Linked DNA regions of Homo sapiens: all the other regions are linked to region 1. The links are contacts of gene promoters, found by promoter capture Hi-C in human tissues and cell types (Jung and others, 2019). All regions are on one chromosome and are shown on one strand. The core of a region is centred on a gene start or on the middle of the fragment in contact, and the rest is flanking DNA. Distances in the headings are between cores, read along the strand shown.

What was found. The method cuts DNA at HindIII sites, captures the fragments that hold promoters and counts their contacts. A contact is called where the count stands out against the background at its distance.
Region 2: a contact is called between a fragment that was not itself captured here and the fragment with the promoter of VPREB1 in region 1, in 5 of the 25 tissues and cell types used here (dorsolateral prefrontal cortex, mesenchymal stem cells, mesendoderm cells and 2 more).
Region 3: a contact is called between a fragment that was not itself captured here and the fragment with the promoter of VPREB1 in region 1, in 1 of the 25 tissues and cell types used here (bladder).

Annotation. Positions count from the first base shown.
Region 1 is chr22:22,242,477-22,247,075 of GRCh38, reverse strand. VPREB1 (V-set pre-B cell surrogate light chain 1) reads right to left here and starts at 2,290. Exons shown (of 2, transcript NM_007128.4): 1 at 2,217-2,290; 2 at 1,561-2,130. The coding sequence starts at 2,262. The coding sequence ends at 1,739. It also overlaps IGL. The HindIII fragment of the contact is 13,267 bases long and covers 1-4,599 here.
Region 2 is chr22:22,202,613-22,207,620 of GRCh38, reverse strand. It overlaps IGL and the pseudogene LOC100419915. Among named protein-coding and RNA genes, the nearest start is that of VPREB1, 40 kb to the left of the region's middle. The HindIII fragment of the contact is 6,097 bases long and covers 476-5,008 here.
Region 3 is chr22:22,297,171-22,301,807 of GRCh38, reverse strand. LOC105372952 (a long non-coding RNA gene) reads left to right here and starts at 3,656. Exons shown (of 3, transcript XR_938055.3): 1 at 3,656-4,126. It also overlaps IGL and the pseudogene BMS1P20. RefSeq lists a silencer at 3,564-3,863. The HindIII fragment of the contact is 4,401 bases long and covers 1-3,492 here.

The DNA of each region.
Region 1 (4,599 bases), core at 1,041-3,540:
GAGACCACTGTTTAACAAGAGAGGGACTCATGACCACACATGGAACGCTGATACTGACATGTGTCCACCTCTCTGGGGAGATGCCTCAGGATCTTTTTAGCTGGGGTGAATGCACGTTCCCAGGCAAGTTGGGGTTACAAGGGAGATGGTTTGCCCGGCACCTCTCTGAGTGAGGCATGTCTACAGGTTGTGTGAACACCCAATGTAGAGAGTCCCTCTCCGCAAGGCACACTCAGACCCACCACCCACGGGCTCAGGGGGCCTTGCTGTGGGCCGGGGCTGCAGGGAGCTCCCCATTGCTACTTCACCCAGACAGTCCAACACAGTCTCAGTGAGACCACGTCCTTCATGCCTCTAGGTATCTCCATGGGTCCAGAGGCTTCTGCCTGGGGTCACAGGCAAGATAAGTTGAGGGGGGACTCTGATTATCCCACCAAGCATGGCTTGCTTAAAACCTGGAGACAGGAGCTGGAGTGCTCCCGAGCAGGGCTCAGCAAACTACAGCCTGGGCGCCATACCCAGCCCAGTGTAGCCCCATCTGTTTCTGTAAATACAGCTTTATAAGAACACAGCCATGCCTCTTTGTTGACATGTTTGTCTGTGGCTGCTTTCTTGCTACTAGGACAGAATTGAACAGTTGTGACAGAGATCGCATAGCCCACAAAGCCAAAAATATTTACCACCTGGCTCTTTATAGAAAATGGGCTGGGTGCAGTGGCTCACGCCTCTAATCCCAGCACTTTAGGAGGCCCAAGCAGGGGGATCACTCGAGCTCAGGAGTTTGAGATCAGCTTGAGCAACATAGTGAGACATTCATCTCTCCAAAAATAAAACTAAATAAATAGCCAAGCATGGTGATGCACGCCTGTAGTCTCAGCTGCTCAGGAGGCTGAGACAGGACAATCACTTGAGCCTGGGAGTTTGAAGCTGCGGTGAGCTATGATTGCACCACTGCACTCCAGCCTGGACCACAGAGCAAGACTTTATCCCTAAAAAAAGGAAAAAAAGAACATGTTTGCCGACACCTGCCACTCTCTTGTACAAATAAGTAAATGCATTTACTTGCTCATCTAGACCAGTGGTTCACAATCAGTGTGAGTTTACCACCTGGGGACATTTGGCAATGTCTGGAGACATTTTTGTTTGTCACAACTGGGAAGGGGCATCTGGTGGGTAGAGGCCACAGATAACCACTCACCATTCAACAATCCGCAGGACAGCCCCACAACCAAGAACTGTCCAGCCCAAAACGTCGATAGGACCAAGGTGGAGAACCCACTCTAGGCCTATTACCTGGCTCCTGTTCTCCCTGGAGGCCCAGACCAGGTGCTTTCTAAGCTTGTTTGCCCTGTAACCGCTGGGCAGAATCAGATGACACCAGAGGGTCCTGTCCTGGGCATGGATGCCCCTCCAGGGTGCTTCGGTCAACCCCTTGCCTCCCATGGCCCACAAAAGTAAGGACTCAGGTGAGTGCTCACCACAGTGATCTGCCAGTCTCCCGGGGCCCCGGGCCTTTGCCCAAGGCTGGTACTACGAAGTCGCACAACAGTCAGACCAAACTCAGCAAAAAGTGACAAGCAGCTTTAATTCCCTAATGCAGTCTCCAATGGGGATTTACAGCAACACTGCAGGACCAGGAGATGCTGAGTGGCTCAGCCTCCTCGGCGCTTCGGGCGGCGACTCCACCCTCTTCCATGACAGTCTCTCCAAGGGGATGCGTGCCTCTGCTGTCTTCAGTTCAAGGGACACGTGTCCTGGCTGCAGTGGGTTCCATTTCTTCCTCCCACTCCCTCTCCCTCTCCTCCTTCTCCGAGCTGCGGGCCCCCATAGCACAGTAATACATAGCCTCGTCCTCAGGCTGCAGCTCAGAGATGCTCAAATACCCCCTGTTCCTGGCCACATCTTTGGATCCAGAGAAGCGAGGGGGGACCTGGGGGCCCTGGCTCTTGTCTGATTGTGAGAAATATCTCAGCAGGAACCTGGGAGGGTGGCCCGGCCTCTGCTGGTACCAGTAGACGCTGTACACACCGATGTCATGGTCGTTCCTCAGGGTGCAGGTGAGGCGGATTGTGGTTCCAAGGGCCGAGGACATGGCCGGCGGCTGATGCAGCACCGGCTGAGGACCACAACCTGGTGACACAGATGCATGTGGGCCGTGGGGGCAGGGCAGGATGAAGGAAGGGGCAGGAGTCTTTGGGATCTGGGGGTTCCCTCACCTGTGCAGTAGACAAACAGCATGAGCAGGACAGGAGCCCAGGACATGGTGCAGACATGCAGAGCTCTGACTCCTGTGGCCACGGTGCCTGGGGTCCCCAAGGGCTGGCCCAGCATCCTCCTCCCTGCTCTGAGAGGTGGGGCCGTGGCACACCCCGTTCCTGGCCACTACCATCCCAGACTTTCTTGGGTCTGCAACGTCGGTTACCGGAACAGCGTCGGGGCAGCATTTGTGGCTCTGATCTTGCCATATGGAAGCATTCAGGGAGGAAGCACCTGCTGGAGACTCTGGGGCCAGTGCCCTGGAGGCCTTTGGGTTAAGGTACCTCAGGGGTCGTGACCTCAACTTCCCCCTGAGGAAACCGCACCCCAGATAAATAAATTTTCTGTCTACATTTAAATGCTTGGTGAGCCAGGAAGGGAGGACACATCCTCGGGGGGTGAAAACACCTGCTTTGTACAGCAGAAGACACTGGGGGCCCAGAGCGGGTTGGGATGTTCTGCCCCTTCCATGTTGCAGCACTGCCTTCGGCCCATGCTCCTCTCCCTACTAGAACCAAGTAGAGTGACTCAGGCATGGGAAAGAAGCACCAGGGCCTGGTGCCTTCCCCACCCCTGTTCTGGCTCACCGAGCAGGTGCAGCTTGGCACTGTGATAGACTGAATTGCATCCCCCAAATCCATAGGTTGAAGCCCTAACCCCCAGTGTGCCTGTATTTGGAGATAGGGCCTTTAAGGAGTTAATGAAGGTTAGATGAGGTCATAGAGGTGGGGCCCCGGTCAGTACAACTGGTGTCCTTATAAAAAGGGGAAATTTGGGAGCCGGATGCAGTGTCTCACACCTATAATCCCAGCACTTTGGGAGGCCAAGGTGGGAGGATCACTTGAGCTCAGGAGTTCGAGTCTAGCCTGAGCAACATGGCAAAACCCCATCTCTACAAAAAAAATTTAAAAATTAGCTGGTCATGGCGGACAGGCACCTGCAGTCCCAACTACTTGGGAGGCTGAGGTGGGAAAATCACTTGAGCTTGGGAGGTTGAGTTGAGGCTGCAGCAAGCCAAGATCTCACCACTGCCCTCCAGCCTGGCCAACAGAGGGAGACCCTGCCTCAAAAAAAAAATGAGAATAAAAATAATACATTAAATGTATGTTTGCATACTACCTGCAAGATTTAAAAAAAAATTAAGGGGAAATTTGGACTTAAAGTCTCTGATCCCACATGCTCACCCTCCCTCAAAAAGCTGGAGTGTCTCCTCCCCTGGAACCTGTGCAGGCCTGTGATCAAGGCTGAAGTGTCCCTGGGTGCACGAGGTGGCACTGAGCAGCTGGGTGTGCACTGGGACTGTTTACTTGCAAACACTTTGATAGAGCAACCACCCCTGAGGCTCAGATGAGCCCCTGCTCGGTGTCAAGCTGCCCCACATCCATTCTCTGCCTGGTGAGGTGCAGGCTGCACCAGTTTCAGCCCGCAGGGTCGACTCTGGGAGCCCCACCCTTCTTCCCACTGCCTCTCTGGCCAACAGCTCCACTGCCCAGGTGAGGGCTGGGGAGGGCCTCTGCAGACACAGGATGTCTTGACCACTCTGTCCAGTAACAGCTGCAACCACATCTATGACCTGTTGCTCCTCCCTCCTCTGCACAGGCTGGTGGGCAGTGGGGAACTAACCAGTGACTGCTGACTCCTGGAGAGGAGAAAGGAAGCTTTTTTCACTCATTCATTCATTTATTCCCTCATCCAGTAGCTCATTCATGTGTTGTGCACGTATTTGTGAAAGAGAAATATACCTCCCAGACCCCTCCGAGAGCACCAGTCCTTGGGAATCAGGGCAGGAGAAGGTTCCACCTGTGGGCACCAGCACTACTGCAGTCCCTGAACTAGCCCTACCACTGACACTGTCAGAGCTTTTTGATCCTTTTAAGCTCAGAGAGGATAGGTGTTTCTACTTGCTCTTACAATTATACTTAGAGAGCAAATAAGCCCAGCCCTCAACCGTAGAGACACTCTGGTCCCAACTTTCTTTCACAGGCTTCACTGACCCAGGACCTTTGCATCACTCACAGAGCAAGATAGTATCCAGTGGTGACTGTGCGTGCTGGGGAATGACTGGGCCTTCCAGACCCTGCTGGAGATGGTCTCAGACCCCTGGAGCATCTAGAGTTAGATGCAGGTCATGCACTCTGAACTCTGCATTCTCCTGGCCCTGGGCCACTCTTCCCACCTCTGTTCCCTCAGCCTTGTCCTCAACCCACCAACACCTGGACTCAGGGATCATCTGCAGGGCACAGCAGTTTGATGGGATTGAAGAACACCATGTATTCAGTCCTTTCTGGCTGCACTCAACTCTTTTTAGATAATTCTAGACCAAGAGAAGGTTGGTGAGCTCTG
Region 2 (5,008 bases), core at 2,275-4,774, 41 kb after region 1:
GGCTTCTTTTAGAGGTTGACTTATTTTGTTATTGTCGTTATTGTCGTGAGGGTCGCCTGTGAGATTCCTTCAGCTCCTACTGCACAAGCCTTGGCATTATAGCCCATAAGAATGATGCTGTCAGAAAAAAAGTGTCTCTTGCTCTGTTTCGCCTCTGACTTCTTTTGCTATTTAATATTATCCTGGTAATACCTCTTTTCTTTTGACCATGTTATATATTTAAGGTATTTTAGTCTAATTTTATAATTTTCGTCAATATGTGGATGGATATAAAAAGACAATTCTCAAAAGTGGAACCCCTCCTTTCTTTTTGGATGTTCTCCCCATACTACTGGCCTGAGGAACCCTCACGTCCCATTTCCCCACCATCACTGGGCCCTGATTCATTTTATTCGTTAAGAAGATCCCTGGATTTAATGGGGATTGGATTCACAAAGCCTAGGTCTCAGAGAACTTCTATTCATCCAACATCTTTCCAACCAAAGAACCAGAGACAAGCACTAGAAATGTGGAGTCAACCTGGAGGCTTGAGGCCTTCATGGCTCTGAGAGCTGGGTCCTTACTGCGGAGGGGCTGCCCTGCACCTGGGAACAGAGCAGCTCTTCCAGAGGCAATCTCAAAAGAAAGAGAAACCTAACTTCTCTGTGGGTTCAGAGCCCAAAGGGTGATCAGCAAAGCCAGGGCCAGATGTAGGGACATGTGAAGCCCATGAGGGCCATACCTGCCAAACTTCTGCTGCTCTTCTCATCCCAGCAGACAACAACGAGGGCTATCTTTGTTACTGTGGACATAGTGATTATGTTTTCATTGGGAGACCAGTAAGAAAAGGTGTCTTTTCATTGAATCCGTAAAGATAAACAGAAAATACCATTAAGCCCTCTGGTTTTAGGAGCACGTGTGATAGCATCAGCAAAAACCTGAGCTGGTCTTGGTAGTATTCACTCAAGCAGGCAGAAAAAGGGCAAAGATGGATCTGACAGAAGAGTTGGAAGGCCAATTTCTATCTAATTTTCTCATATGACAGTGACTGTTGGTGGTGACTGAGGCTGCTGTGCTGCCCCTGAATAAATGTCACCATCATCCTCATGCACTGACTGGAACCCAGAGAAAGTCAGGGAGGCTGAACTGCCGACTGGAAGAAGGGACCTGACCTGTGATTGCCCAGCATTAAACTTTTCCACCAGCAGGTGTCCAGAGCATTTCCTGGCTGAACCTGATAGCAGGATCCCTTACCCTCCATGCCACTGGTGGTTCCTGTGACTTCATCGAGATTCAACCTGAGGGTGGCTGGATCACCACAGGCTAAGCCCTGACTTCTAGCTGGAGACATAGAGAATCCTGGAAACTGAAGATGTCCAGAATAATGTGTACCCAGAGAGAAGAGAGGGGTGTGTGTGTGCGTGTGTGTGTGTGTGTGTGTGTGTGTGTGTGTGTGAAAGAGAGAGAGAGAGAGAGAGAACATGTGTCTTCCAGGACCCATTCCTGCCTAGGCAGAGCCTAAAGTGAGTGGCAGCCTGCCTCACGGCCAAAATGTGATCTTGAAATAGCAATTATTAAAAATGCTCAGGCAGCATCCTTTCAATAAGTACCTAAGCCTAAACTGGGGAGTACTGCATTGACACATTCATAGGCTGATCAGTGAAGGGAGAAACCACCTAAATGAGGATATTAACGTGGCATTTCTATGTCTTTCCTCATTGAATTAAACGCAAGTACAGGTTCTATGATCACTGAGCTGAGAATCTTTTCAAAGGAGAATATTCTTTCCAGTAGATTTAATATTATCACAAAATTAAAACAAACCAATTTCATTATTCTCACATTCTAAGACTCTGGTATATTTAAACGTTAAATTAAGAGCATGTTTTGAAAACCTCTCAATAGGGGCAGGAACACCTATATTTAAGACTCCTCTACCTTTACTTTAAAGAAACACATCACTTTCCATTTGGAGGGGAATGTCAGAATTCTATCAGCCACATAGATCTTTTTATAAAGTATGATTTTACATTTTATTTATTCATTCAATCAACTGGGAATTGCTGTATTGTACAAATACAATGTTGTACAAAAATCACAGAATGTTACAAAATAAAAAGTACAAACTGCATTACTTAATAAATGTGACTACAATTAGGCAAAGTGGCAATATGATAGATTTTAGGTGGGAAACATTAACACAACAAACCATACAATCTCTGCAGACATTTGTACATTATAAAATAGGATGATCCTATTTTGCCTTTTAAAAGAATTTAAAAGGAGTATTAAGACGGTATCTTCTGCTATGAAATAACTGCCGAGGTTGGCTCCAGGCATTTATGCCATTAGCTTTTAAAACTCTTAGGGGACTCCAACATGCTATATTGCAGTAGGTTTAGCTTGTCACAGAGTCTTATACCATGTTAAGATTACCTTAAAACAAAATCACAAACATAAATAAAAACAATTGAGATCACCCAACATTCTGCTCTAACATCAATCTAGTGCAGATTAGTCACTCTGCCATCAGCAAGCATCAGACTTTCATTCAAGTAAGACCTGGTACAATCCGTTAAAGAAGAAGAAAAAAAAAAACTTCCCACAATCCTTTGTTAAGTATTTCTCTCTAAAAGATTGACCATTTCTAAACAAATAATGGTTCCAAAACAACAAATCTATTTGTATCAAAATGTAATGGGCCAATCATTTGGTAACAAGAATGCATCAATATAAGTTTCTAAGAATTGTAAAATTCAAATTTCAACAGCGTAACTACCAAATCACAAACTCTGTTCAAAATAATAAATTTTATATAAAACACTTCTCTTAATTTCTGCCTGAAAGCTGCTTGTCAAAAGTAATGTACTGTCATAGATGAAGGTACACCATTTTTTAATGTTGTGTAAAAATACACTTTTGTAGAAAATAGACTACCAGGAATGAACAGATTTACACTGTGAGAAATTAGCTTTCAAATTAAGCAGTGCTCACTTAAACAGAAAATTACAGATGCAGTAAAATCACCCAAAACTATCATGCAACATCATTTAGGCGCCCAGCAACTTTTAGTTCCGAGAAAACATTTTAAAAGATGATTATGGCGTTACACTCACAGAAAAGCTATTAGGAAGTGCCAGCTGCGGTGGCTCACGCCTGTAATCCCAGCGCTGTAGGAGGCCGAGGCGGGTGGATCACGAGGTCAGGAGATTGAGACCATCCTGGCTAACACCGTGAAACCCCGTCTCTACTAAAAATACAAAAAATTAGCCGGGCGTGGTGGTGGGCACCCGTGGTCCCAGCTACTCGGGAGGCTGAGGCAGGGGAATGGCGTGAACCCAGGAGGCGGAGCTTGCAGTGAGCCGAGGTCGCGCCACTGCACTCCAGCCTGGGCAACACTGCGAAACTCCATCTCAAAAAAAAAAAAAAAAAAAAAAAGGAAAGAAAAGCTGTTAGGAACTTTACAAGTGTTATTACCCTGATTAGAGTTCATGTCATTCTCCAAGCACAAGTTCTGTATGCAATTTTCCCAGGGTGTAAGGTTTTCAGACATTTCAAGGGTAGGCATTTTATTCAGAATATGTGGCCCCAGAGTGAGCAAGTTATTCATTGCGTTGCCTTTTGCTTTTGAGTCTGTTTGCACCAGTTGTCGTACTTGGTTAGGATAGGAGTGATCAAATACTGCATCCTAGTGCCCGTTACTGAGCCAACTGAGCCAAATACTAGGCTTTAGGCAATCCTCTGGGCCCAAATAATGAATCATGGTAGATAGACACTGTGGGCCTCTCCAGCCTCCCTCTAGTAGTTCAGTGCTATTCACATTCAGCATCTACCCTATGTACACAGGGTACCCAGCCACGCCCCGTTTTGGGCAGCCGCGATAATAAGCTTCCCCGTGTCACCCTCACCCAGGGAGCTAAAGTGGTGGAGACGATCGGGATGGGGCGCACCCTCCGCTCCGCAGCTCCTGGTGCAGGCTCGGGTCTAGCACTGGGTCTTGCTGACAGCACCGTAGAGGCCGTTGCCATGGGGAATGATGTGGAATCGGTGCTGATTCTTCTGCGTAAGCCCATGTCCTGCTTCTCGCCTGGGCCAGGTGCAAGGCTAGCTTCTCCTGTGATCCGACCTGGAGAGAACCACCTTGCTGGCGCCGCTCTGGGCAGCCTCGCTGCTGCTGGTCTGGTCGGGGAACCTCAGCCTCTGGGTGGGGCCTTAGTGCAGCGTCTTCACCTGCATCTTCGCCGTGTCTTCTCTCTCTCCCAGCCCCGCAGGCTCATCTCCGCCATGTGCTCTTCTCCTGGTGGACCCTGGCGAGGATCCGGGCTCCCCGGGGGTGATGCAGCCTCCATCCTGGGTGGCGGCCTGGGTTTGGCGCTGCTTGCTCAGGGGGAAGTTTCTATCAGGCCCCTCCCGAGCTGCCGCTAAGCCGCGGGCTCCATGCAGGGTAGTCGGGCGCAGCAGCTCCTCCAGGAGCCAGGTGGAGGAGCCCTGCCAAGGCAGGCGGGACTGGGCCATGCACCAGGAGCCTTGCAGCTCCCAGACCCATGCAGAGATCCACATGGATCATCTCTGTCAAGTTAAAGAGATAAAACAAAACTAAACTAACAAAACCAAAAAAAAAAAAAAAAAAAAAAGAGGTCGGGCACGGTGGTTCACGCCTGTAATCCCAGCACTTTGGGAGGCCGAGGACGGCGGATCCCGAAGTCAGGAGTTCCAGACCAGCCTGACCAACATGGTGAAACCCCGTCTCTACTAAAAAATACAAAAAATTTAGCCAGGCATGGTGGCGCACGCCTGTATCCCAGCTACTCAGGAGGCTGAGGCAGGAGAATCGTTTGAACCAGGGAGGCTTAGGTTGCAGTGAGCCCAGCTCACTGCACTGCACTCCAGCCTCGCTGACAGCAAGACTCTGCCTCAAAAAAAAAAAGGAAAGAAAAGCAATCTTAAAAATAAAACAATAACAAACAGTGAGAGTCATCCTGCAGAGCTGCCAGGGCTGTTCACCTATTCAACCCATGGTAACCATTTA
Region 3 (4,637 bases), core at 43-2,542, 56 kb before region 1:
AAAGACCCGACATCACAAATACGCCAATTCTCCCTTTAGCACAGTTACAACCCGAAACCACCACTAAGGATTTCTGGTCTAGAGAAGATAACACATTATACCCTCCTAAGAAATGTAACCCAAACTCTAGAAATAATAGACAGGAGAGGATCAATGGAGAATTCCAAAAGGTGGACAGAAAAAGGCTGCTGAGGGACTCTAGGACTAGGGAATGCATAGTGGCCAGGTGTCTCCCTGGACCTCATCCAATAGGAAGGTGACCCAGGCCCAGAGTTTCCCAACTCCCAACGTAGCAATAGAAGGCAACCCAGGCAGACTCAGTCCCCGCAGATCAAAGGAGATCTTCCCCACAACAAGAAAACCAGCTCCACACACCAAGACAACCACCATTCCCCACCCACCTAGCTGCAGCAGGTGGCCCAGCCTAGGGCGGCTCCCCTGTTCCCTCAGGTGGGCAACAACAGGGACTGGTGGGAGAATCCCAGTGATACATATAAGCCAAAGAGACCAAAATAACACCATGAAGGCTCTGAAATTAAATTGCCATTGGAATCACAGCCCACAAAGTAGACCAAGACCTACAGACTAAACCTAAACAGGAGGACTGCCTGCAAAAATAAAAAAATTACATAGGCAGATGTTGGAACCATCTGACTCATCACTTATAACAGTCAGTATAAAAATGCTTCAACAAGCAACTACAAATCCTATGGCAACAATCAAAGAACTGAAAACATCAGCAAAGAAACTGAAGAATCAAATGGAAATTACAGAAATATAAAATCCAGTAACAGAAATTTTAAAAAAACTAACTGGATGGGCCCTATTGAGTAAAAGTGGAGACGACAGAGGAGAGAATCAGAGAAGCTGAAACCTGATCAACAGAATTCACCCAGTCTAAACAAGAGAGAGAAAATAACCTGAAAACAAATGAACAGAGCTGCACGGACCTGTGGGACGATAACCCCGCATTTATGTTATCTGAGTCCCATAGGAGACCAGAGCTGTGAAAGCATGCAAATAACTAATTCCTGAGGCTTCCCACATTTGGTGAAAGATATAAACTTACAGATTCAAGAAGCTGAGCAAACCTCAAAGTATACCAAAAGAAAGCAACACCAATTAAACTTTCAAAACTAAAAACAAAGACCAAAAATGGCAGAATGCCTGTAGGGACACGCCAACTCAAATGCCATGGAGGCCAGAAGGAAGTGGCACAACATTTTCAAGTGTTTAAAAAAAAAACAACCAAACAAAAAAACCAACCAAACAAAAAAACTGTTCGCTGCAAATTCTATATCCCATGAAACTACCCTTCAGAAATGAAGAGAGAAATAAAGACATTCTCAGAGGAAGAGAATATAGGAATTTGTCACTGGTCAATTTAGAAATGCTAAAAAGTGGCTACAGAAATATGTTCTGTCATTTCCACAATACAAAAAATTAAAACAAAAAAATCAAAACAAAAAAATGGCTACAGAAAGTTCTTATGCAGAAGGGATGAATATGGGACTATAGGAGGAGGGACAAAGGAAAGACCAGAAATGTGGATACATACGCGAGACAATCCACAGTTCTTAAAATCACATTTGACGACTGAAACAAAAACTATACCACCACCTAATACTCAAGCCAGTGATTTATACAAGTGGAAAAGGTAAAGAGACATAAATGCAAGGCAGGTTTCCACACTTTGAAGTGGTAAATACTGGTACCAGTAGACTACTGTATTACAATACACATATTGTAACATCCAGAGCAAACACTTTAAGACTATACAAAGAGATACGAGCAACAACATTATACAGAAATAGATCAAGATGGAGGGAAAGAAAAAGGAAACGAAAAAGCAAATAATAAAAACATCAGACATAAGCAATTATGTAACTATAAGCACCTTAAATGTAAATGGTCTAAATAAACCAAAAGACAGATTGATGGAGAGCCTATAATAAACACATGGCCCAACTAAATACTGTTCATAAGAAACTTCAAACTCACTTAAGGACCTAAGTAGGTTGAAAGTAAAAGAATGGAGAAAGATATCCTGTGAAATCATTAATTTTTTAAGGAAGCAGGAGTGAATATATTAATATCTCATGAAGTAGACTTCAAGCAAAATAATTTACCAGAGCTGGAGAGGGTCTTCGCTGAATTTTAAGATCTAAAATTTCCTATGCTGCCTTGACATCTTTGAGCCTCACAGGGCCCCAAAGGCCTAGCCGTGGGTTTTCCTGTTTCTACCAGACACCCCCTACCCTGCCACCCAACAGGAAAGGCTCCCCACCTGGCTAGTTCTTTTATCAGCCAAACAGTTGCACCTCAGCCTAAGAAGCTTCACTTCACCTGTCTGCCAGCCCATGAATTTATTCAAACAAGCCAACTGCATTCCCCCTCGGGAACCATTGGTCATTGTGTGCTCTTGTTACTATCAAGCCTGCCTGCTTCCTCAGCCCACAGCCCTCACTCCGCTACAGAGTGCGGTGCCCATCTGACCCTGTGTGGCATGCAGTGTCCTCCTCTGAGCTGTGGGTATATGTGACTAAAACACTGCTGTCAATCTCATCCATCCACGCCAGGTGTCGTGTTCAGCCATCTCCTACACTTTAGGGCAGGGACCCCTCCTTCACCAATGGGGTGAAAAGGAAGTGACCATAACAACTGCTTAATGACAAAAGGATTAACCCACCAAGAAGACATCTACTTCAACATCCTCCTCTTAGCAACTGTTAAAACTAGGCAGAGGCCGGGCACAGTGGCTCATGCCTGTAATCCCAGAACTCTGGGAGGCAAAGACAAAGGATAGCTCGAGGCCAGGAGTTCGAGCCTGGGCAACATAGCAAGGCCTCATCTCTCCAAAAAATTTTAAATTTAGCCAGGTGTGGCGGCACACACCTATAGTACCAGCTACTCAGGAGGTTAAGCCAGGGGAAGTACTTGACCCTAGGAAGTCAAGGCTGCAGTGAGTCATGTTCGTGCCACCGCACTCTAATGTAAGTGACAGAGTGAAACTAGGCAGAAAAGGAGCAAGGATTTACAAAAGATCTGAACAGTCAACCAGCAAAATCTGACATCCGTATAACACCCCACTCCCCAACAGCAAAACACACACATTTTTAAAGCCAATAGAAATCTACCAAGATGAAGTACATTTGGGGCAATAAAAGAAATCACAGCCGTGCCCCTCTCTGCGCTTTCTTTTCTCACCATGGGGAGGCGTTTGGGGGCCTCTTGAGGGACCCCCTAGATGCTTCTACTCAGAGCCCCCAAAGCCGGGGAGCCTCCACTCCTCTGTATGCAGCCTCCCCTGTCGGTTCTCGCTACCCAGGGTTCAGTGGCCTGGGGGCTGACGGAGGGGGTCGCCTCTGCCAAGGCCCCTCCCGGCGCCTCCCTAGCTCATCCAGCCCACCTTCCTCCCACGCTGGCTCACGCAAAGTGCTCTGGTTACCAGGAGCCCTTCCTGACCAGCCCCGGCCCCTTCTTGGCCTTCGCCCACCTGGCCTCCCCTGGAGCCCTGACCTGGGTGCCGGGCCTGCTGGGTCCAGAGCCCACCCCGCCCTGAACAACCCCGAGTCTCAGCCACCCTCAGTTCTTACCCTTTCACAGCTGGGGAGTGGAGTCTGGGCCGGCGCCTCGCTGTGCCGCGCTGTGCGCCTCTCCGCGCCTGCGCCGCCGCTGTGCCCCTCTCCGCGCCTGCGCCGCCGCTGTGCGCCTCTCCGCGCCTGCGCCGCCGCTGTGCGCCTCTCCGCCGCTGTCCGCCTCTCCGCCGCGCCGCCGCTGTCCGCCTCTCCGCCGCTGTCCGCCTCTCCGCCGCTGTCCGCCTCTCCGCCACGCCGGCGCTGTGTGCCTTTGCGAGGGCGGAGCTGAGTTCTCCTTTGCACAGACTTCGGAGATACAGCGAAGGCAGAGCAATGTTCTCCTCAGCACAGACCCGGGCGGGCGGGCCGGTGGCACCGCGAGGGCGGAGCTGCGTTCTGCTCTGCACAGACCTTGGGGGCACTGCCTCGCTTTGGGACACCTCGGGGCCGCATCGACGGTGAATAAAATCCTTCCTGTTTGCAGCCCTGTTTGTGGTTGGTGGCAGCGATGGACACTGCAGCCAGCCAGAGCGTAGAAAGGCGTTGGGGTAAGCGCGCTATCCAGGCTGCACTGCGGGTGGCCTGGGACCGGTTGGGAGCCCTATCTCAGGCGTCACTGCCCGTCTTGGGTGGCTGGTTGGGTGTGCTATCTGGGGCTGTGCTGCCTGCACGGGGGGATGGTTTGGGAGCCCAAACCGGGGCTGCACTGCCTTTGGCGGGGAGCCGGTTGGGGGCACTATCCCAGACTGTATTGCTGGCAACAGTGAGGTGGGCTAAGTGTGCTATCCGGGGCTGCACTGTGCGGCTGTGGGCGGTGGGGGGGTGGGTGGCGGTTTCGGGTTGAGGGCGCTATGGGGTGCTGTAATGCCCATGGTGCGGGGAGGCGGGGCGGCTTGGGTATGTTGGGTGTGCTGTTGCGGGGGGGCGACACTGCTGGTGGTAGGGGGCAGGGTGGGTTGGGGGCCATATCAGGGGCTGTACTGATTGCTTTAGCTAGGATTTCTGGTACTATGTTAAACAACAGTGGTGACAGGGGGCATCCTTATCATGTTCCAGATC